Linked DNA regions of Homo sapiens: region 1 is linked to region 2. The links are contacts of gene promoters, found by promoter capture Hi-C in human tissues and cell types (Jung and others, 2019). All regions are on one chromosome and are shown on one strand. Each heading gives the region's core, a stretch centred on a gene start or on the middle of the fragment in contact. The rest is flanking DNA. Distances are from core to core; before and after follow the strand shown.

Region 1 (2,751 bases), core at 8-2,507, 93 kb after region 2:
ACCTCCTGGGTTCAAATGATTCTCCTGCGTCAGCCTCCTGAGTACCTGGGATTACAGGCGCCCACCAACACGCCCGGCTAATTTTTGTATTTTTAGTAGAGACAGGGTTTCATCATGTTGGCCAGGATGGTCTCGAACTTCTGACCTCAAGTGATCCTCTTGCCTTGGCTTGCCAAAGTGCTGGGATTACAGGTGTGAGCTACTGCATCTGGCCTTTCCCTTCTTTGTGTGTGTGTGTGTGTGTGTGTGTGTGTGTGTGTGTGTGTATACAGCTTCCCAAGTAGCTGAGACTACAGGTATGTGCCACCACGCTCGGCTAATTTTTATTTATTTTTATTTTTTTATTTTTATTTTTATTTGTAGAAACGAGGTTTCGCCATATTCCCCAGGCTGGTCTTGAACTCCTGGGCTCAAGGGATACTCCTGCCTTGGCCTCCCAAAGTTCTGGGATTACAGGCATGAGCCATCATGCCCAGCCTCTCCCTTCTGGTAGCTGAGTTAAGGGACTCTGTGGATGGCTTTATTGTGCAGCTATAGTATTTAATAAATATTGGTAATTTACTGGCTTTGTTTTAATATTAAAATTATGGTAAAATGAACTGCCCTGACCCTTGATATGCTTGTTTCTACCCTACCTTCCCTCAGTCAGTCAACCTCATCTAAATATATCTCCCTGCAGTTCTAATGGTGATCTTTCTAGGTGAATGTCATGAGCTGCTTTTTGATGCTCTTTCATTATCTGTGAAAAAGGATAAAAGTAGTTAAGTGGATAACTTAAGTATAAACAAAATCTTCATGGATTCTTTTAGCAGGAAAATGAGCTTGAATTGAGTGGTCATTTCTGTTCATTAAGTTCAGATTTTGAGGCCCTCCCCGCCAAGATGATTCTAGTTACTAGTGCTTACATTCGTGTACTGTGTTCTAAGCCATTTGGCATCTCAACAGACTCATCCACAGCAGCCCTATGAAATTGATGGGGCAGATATTTCTATTTGCTTTTGGCAAATGAGGACATGAGGCTCATGAGGGGCCTGTCAGGCCCAGAAACACTGAACCTTGTCCCACTCTTGGGTCAACATAATATTTAGCTTTCAGTGACTGCTCATTCTTGACCTTGTTGTTTGTCAAGGAAGGGGTTGGGGAAGAGAAAATTTAATTTGTTACTATTTTTCTTAACTACTGGGACTATATTGCCTGAGTGAGTGGTCGGGGGGTGTCAGCGAAGATGTTGGTTCAGGTAAGAATAAAATTCAGTTGTTATTTATTTAAGACTTACCATGGGCTGGGCCCAGTGGCTCACGCCTGTAATTCCAGCACTTTGGAAGGCCGAGGTGGGTGGATCACTTTGAGTTCAGGAGTTTGAGACGGGCCTGAGCAACATGTCTCTACTAAAAATACAAAATTAGCCGGGCTTGGTAGTGCACGCCTGTAGTCCCAACTACTTGGGAGGCTGAGGCCAGAGAATCACTTGAACCTGAGAGGCGGAGGTTGCAGTGAGCTGAGATCACTGAATCTAACTGAAAGGCTTTTGAGAATAGGTAATTTTATAGAAGGAGAAATGCAGTACATAAAATTGGCTTTATGTTTATCTTGAATACCAAGAAAATTGTTTTTCTTGGGTAAATTTAGGTGATTTTCCAGTGGTGCTTTCTTGCACATTTGACCATAGAAGAACATGTGTTAAGCCCATCCCTTCTCATTTGGTCAAGGTCCATCCTTGGTCTCTATGACAGTTGAATGAAGATTGAGCTGTTCACACATCCTCAGTAATATACAAGTAGTATATCCGTCAAAAGGGTTTTGTGCTTATTTTCCAAGAGCTCTCGGTGCTCTAAATTCTTTATATGAACATGTAAGATTGCACATCTGGTTTTAAATGTGGACATGGGCATTGTAGGGTCCTGGTTTTTAAACTATTCATGACTTACAATGCCTCAGCGTATCTTCCTTGGGAGAATTCATTTTGTTGAATGCTCATCCTGAGGACGCAGCTCCCTTCCTAGAAATGAGGTAGCTCCTGGCACCTTGAGAGTTCCTCTGTGTGCAGGAAACCGATGAGTTTGCAGATACCAGCTTCATGATAGCCTGACTGAAACTTGTTGAGGAGCAATGCAGGATGGTGAATATTTTCATGATCTAGATCAGTTAACTCATCCTGCACATGGCTAACTTTATGTCATGAGAACAGATTTCTTAGCCTGAGAATTGGGACAACTTAGAAATTGGGAAACTAAGCATGTATATCTTTTAATTTTTTTCTTTTCTCTCTTCTCTTCTAAATGGAACATTCACGCAAGGCAGTGTACAGAGATGGTGTGGTATACTGCAGAGAGCAGGGGCCCCGAGGGCAGGCCAGGGTACGAGTCTAGATGCCACCCTCTGAGCCATCGTTTCTTCACGGTTTTACATTGCTGTCCTCTGAATCAGAAATCATGATGTAAGACGAGGCGAATTGCAGTTGTGTGAGCTCTCTTTTCATGAAGACGATTATACATTTTGCTGATGTCTCAATAATTTCCCAAGTCAGGATGACAGAAGAGCTGAAAGCAGCCTACTTAGGATTATTCAAGGAAATGAAAGAACTGTTTCCTTCATTCATAAACACCTGAGAGTCTGCTCTGGCTTAGACACTACGCTAGTTGTTGAGAAACAACTCAACAAATTAGGCCGAGAATCTGCCCTAATGAAATCTAGAGTTTGGAAGAGAGAACACATCTACAAACCAGCACACGGTGACGACTTTTTTCCAAG
Region 2 (2,700 bases), core at 57-2,556:
TGGACACTTGGGTTGTTTACACCTCTTGGCTTTTGCAAATAATTCTGCAGTGAACATGGGAGTGCACATACCTCTTTGAGATCCGGATTTCAATTCTTTTGGTTACATACTCAGGCATGGGATTGCAGGAAGACTGTCATCTCTCTCATCTTACTCAACAGGCTGCTTCTCCCCAGTGTACATACAGACTTGAGTCTTTCTTATCTCTTTTTTCCTAAAAGAACAAAAAAATTTATTTAAATGTGAGAATTATGGGAAACCTAAGCCATGGGAATTGGACACTCATGGGGGTCTTCTGTGAAATGGGACTTGCCCCCACCTTCTGCAGCCTGAAGCTTTTGCAGTTTCGCCATCAGTTCTTTGGCGGGGTTAAAGATGCCGCCGGTTGGCTGGTCACAGATGTAGCAGCGCGGGGTGGCCCGGAAGTGCTCCAGCGCGCAGCTCTCGCAGAAATAATGCCTGCACTTGGTGACGACTGGGTTTTGGAAGGCCTGGCGACATATGAAACACCTGAATGGTATTTCCTCTTCCTCGCTTCCCACTTCATGGTTTTCGTCCTCGCAGATACAGTAGCGACCCTCTTCAAGCTCCCGTTCAATCTCCCACCCGAGCTTGTAATCGGAACGGTCGTGGAGGAATTTGCAGCTGTCCCCGAAGCCACAGAAGCCAGTCTCCTTGTAGTCCTTGCAGATGTCAGGCTGGTAATCCCAGCGCACAGTGGCGCGCAGATGCCCTGGCGCACGTATGGGGCCCTTCCTCGCCATCCCCGAGGAGGAGTTGCCCATGGACGTGTCCTTGGGCTTCAGGTACCTCAGGTAGCTGTGGATTCCCCGGTAGATGTGGTCGTGCTCCCGACCCCGCAGTGCCTCCTGGACCCGCTGGCTGCACTTGAGGATGGTCGGCGTATGGTGCTCCTTCTCGGTGTCCTGCTCGAAGTCAGCGGTGGCCCCCATGTCCTCTGGCCCCACAGGCTTCGCCGAGCGGGTGGACCTGTACACCACGTCGAGGCTCTCAGGCGCCGCCTCCTCGCCCCTCCTGTCGCCGTGAGCCGCCTTCTGCCAGCTGTGGAGGCCCCGGGGCCTCGGTGCCACCCGCGGGGGCTGAGCCACTGTGTCGCCCTCGTCCCCGCTGCTGCTGCTCTCTCCGTGCTCGGGGTCGCAGGCCGGGCGCTTTCTGAGGCCTGCAGCCCCTTTCCGTCCAGGCTTTTTGAAGAGGAAGGTGCATACCTGGTCTGCTTGGTCGGCCGTCCTTCCTGGAGAAGGTGGCGCTGCCATGTTTGAGTCTCAGGCTCCCAACGGCCGTGGCGTGCGTCACCCTTGCGTCGCCCTTGCGTCGCTGCACGTGGGGCGTGGGCCCTCCCAGTTCTAAAAAGCAAAAGCAAGTGAAAGAAAAGCTTCTGCTAGGCCAGGCGCGGTGACTCACTCTTGTAATCCCGGGACACTGGGAGGCCGAGGTGGGAGAATCACCCGAGGTCAGCAGTTTAAGACCAGCCTGGCCAACATAGCGAAACTCCATCCTTACTAAAAATACAAAAATTACCTGGGTGTGGTGGCGTGCGCCTGAAGTCCCAGCTACTAGGGAGGCTGAGGCAGAAGAATCGCTTGAACCCAGGAGGCAGAGGTTGTAGTGAGCCGAGATCACGCCACTGTACTCTAGCCTGGGTGACAGAGCGAGACCCTGTCTCAAATTAAAAAAAAAAAAACCAAAAAAAAAGGCTTCTCCCGCCCTTCCCTCCCTTGACCTGCCTCCTGGCCCTCAGATGGATTCCTTGAGAGAGTCATCTTCACTTGCTCCTCAGCTCCCTCAGTGCACACTCATTTTTCAACAGATTCCTAAAAGGCCACGGGTGGAATCATTCCAGGCCATAGCGAACCGGTGGTGCTCATCCTAAAACACAGGCGCTTGAAATGCGTATTTAAAAGCAACACACGCGCAGTGCAGAAAACAAAAACAGATACAAGCAAAAAGTAAGACGCCTATAATCCCTCCCCTCAAAGATAACCACTGTCAACACTTTTGTGTCTATTCTTTTAATATAGCCTTTATTAAAAGACTGTCATATCACACTGCACCTGTGGGTGTGTAGCTGGCTTTCATTTTGAAATAAAAGTAACACATGTAAACATTTAAAAAAATATTATCAAGCACTTATTGTAATGGAAATTGGCTGTCCCCTGCCTGGCCCCTCCACACGCCAATTCCTGGTACCTAAGATAATCATTTTTAATTTTTTTTTTTTTTTTTTTTTTTTGAGAAAGAGTCTCGCTCTGTCGCCCAGGCTGGAGTGCAGTTACATGATCCCGGCTCACTGCAACCTCTGCCTCCCGGGTTCAAGCAATTCTCCTGCCTCAGCCTCCTGAGTAGCTGGGATTACAGGTGTGTGCCACCACACCCAGCTAACTTCTGTGTTTTTAGTAGCGACAGGGTTTCACCATGTTGGCCAGGCTGGTGTGGAACTCCTGACCTCAGGTGATCCACCCACCTTGGCCTCCTAAAATGTTGGTATTACAGGCGTGAGCCACTGCACCCCGCCTTCAAATATTTTTAACCCTTTTTTTTCTTGAGTTTATCTTCAAGTTGTGAAATAATTCATTTATATAATGTAAATGGATTCTAGTTCTTATTTAGCCAGTGCATGTCATAAAGTGTTACATGCAATTTCTTTTTCTAATTTAGGTTCTATCTCTTTACTTACTAGAA

What was found. Contacts are between HindIII fragments. The study calls those that stand out against the background at their distance.
Region 1: a contact is called between a fragment that was not itself captured here and the fragment with the promoter of RNF113B in region 2, in 2 of the 25 tissues and cell types used here (IMR-90 fibroblasts and thymus).

The regions. Positions count from the first base shown.
Region 1 is chr13:98,268,554-98,271,304 of GRCh38, forward strand. The region is part of intron 2 of FARP1 (FERM, ARH/RhoGEF and pleckstrin domain protein 1); the gene reads left to right. Among named protein-coding and RNA genes, the nearest start is that of MIR3170, 61 kb to the left of the region's middle. The HindIII fragment of the contact is 9,127 bases long and covers 1-2,751 here.
Region 2 is chr13:98,175,963-98,178,662 of GRCh38, forward strand. It overlaps RNF113B (ring finger protein 113B), which reads right to left and starts at 1,307. Exons shown (of 2, transcript NM_178861.5): 1 at 320-1,307; 2 at 1-214. The coding sequence starts at 1,274. The coding sequence ends at 201. All of the region lies in intron 1 of FARP1 (FERM, ARH/RhoGEF and pleckstrin domain protein 1), which reads left to right. The HindIII fragment of the contact is 2,632 bases long and covers 1-2,111 here.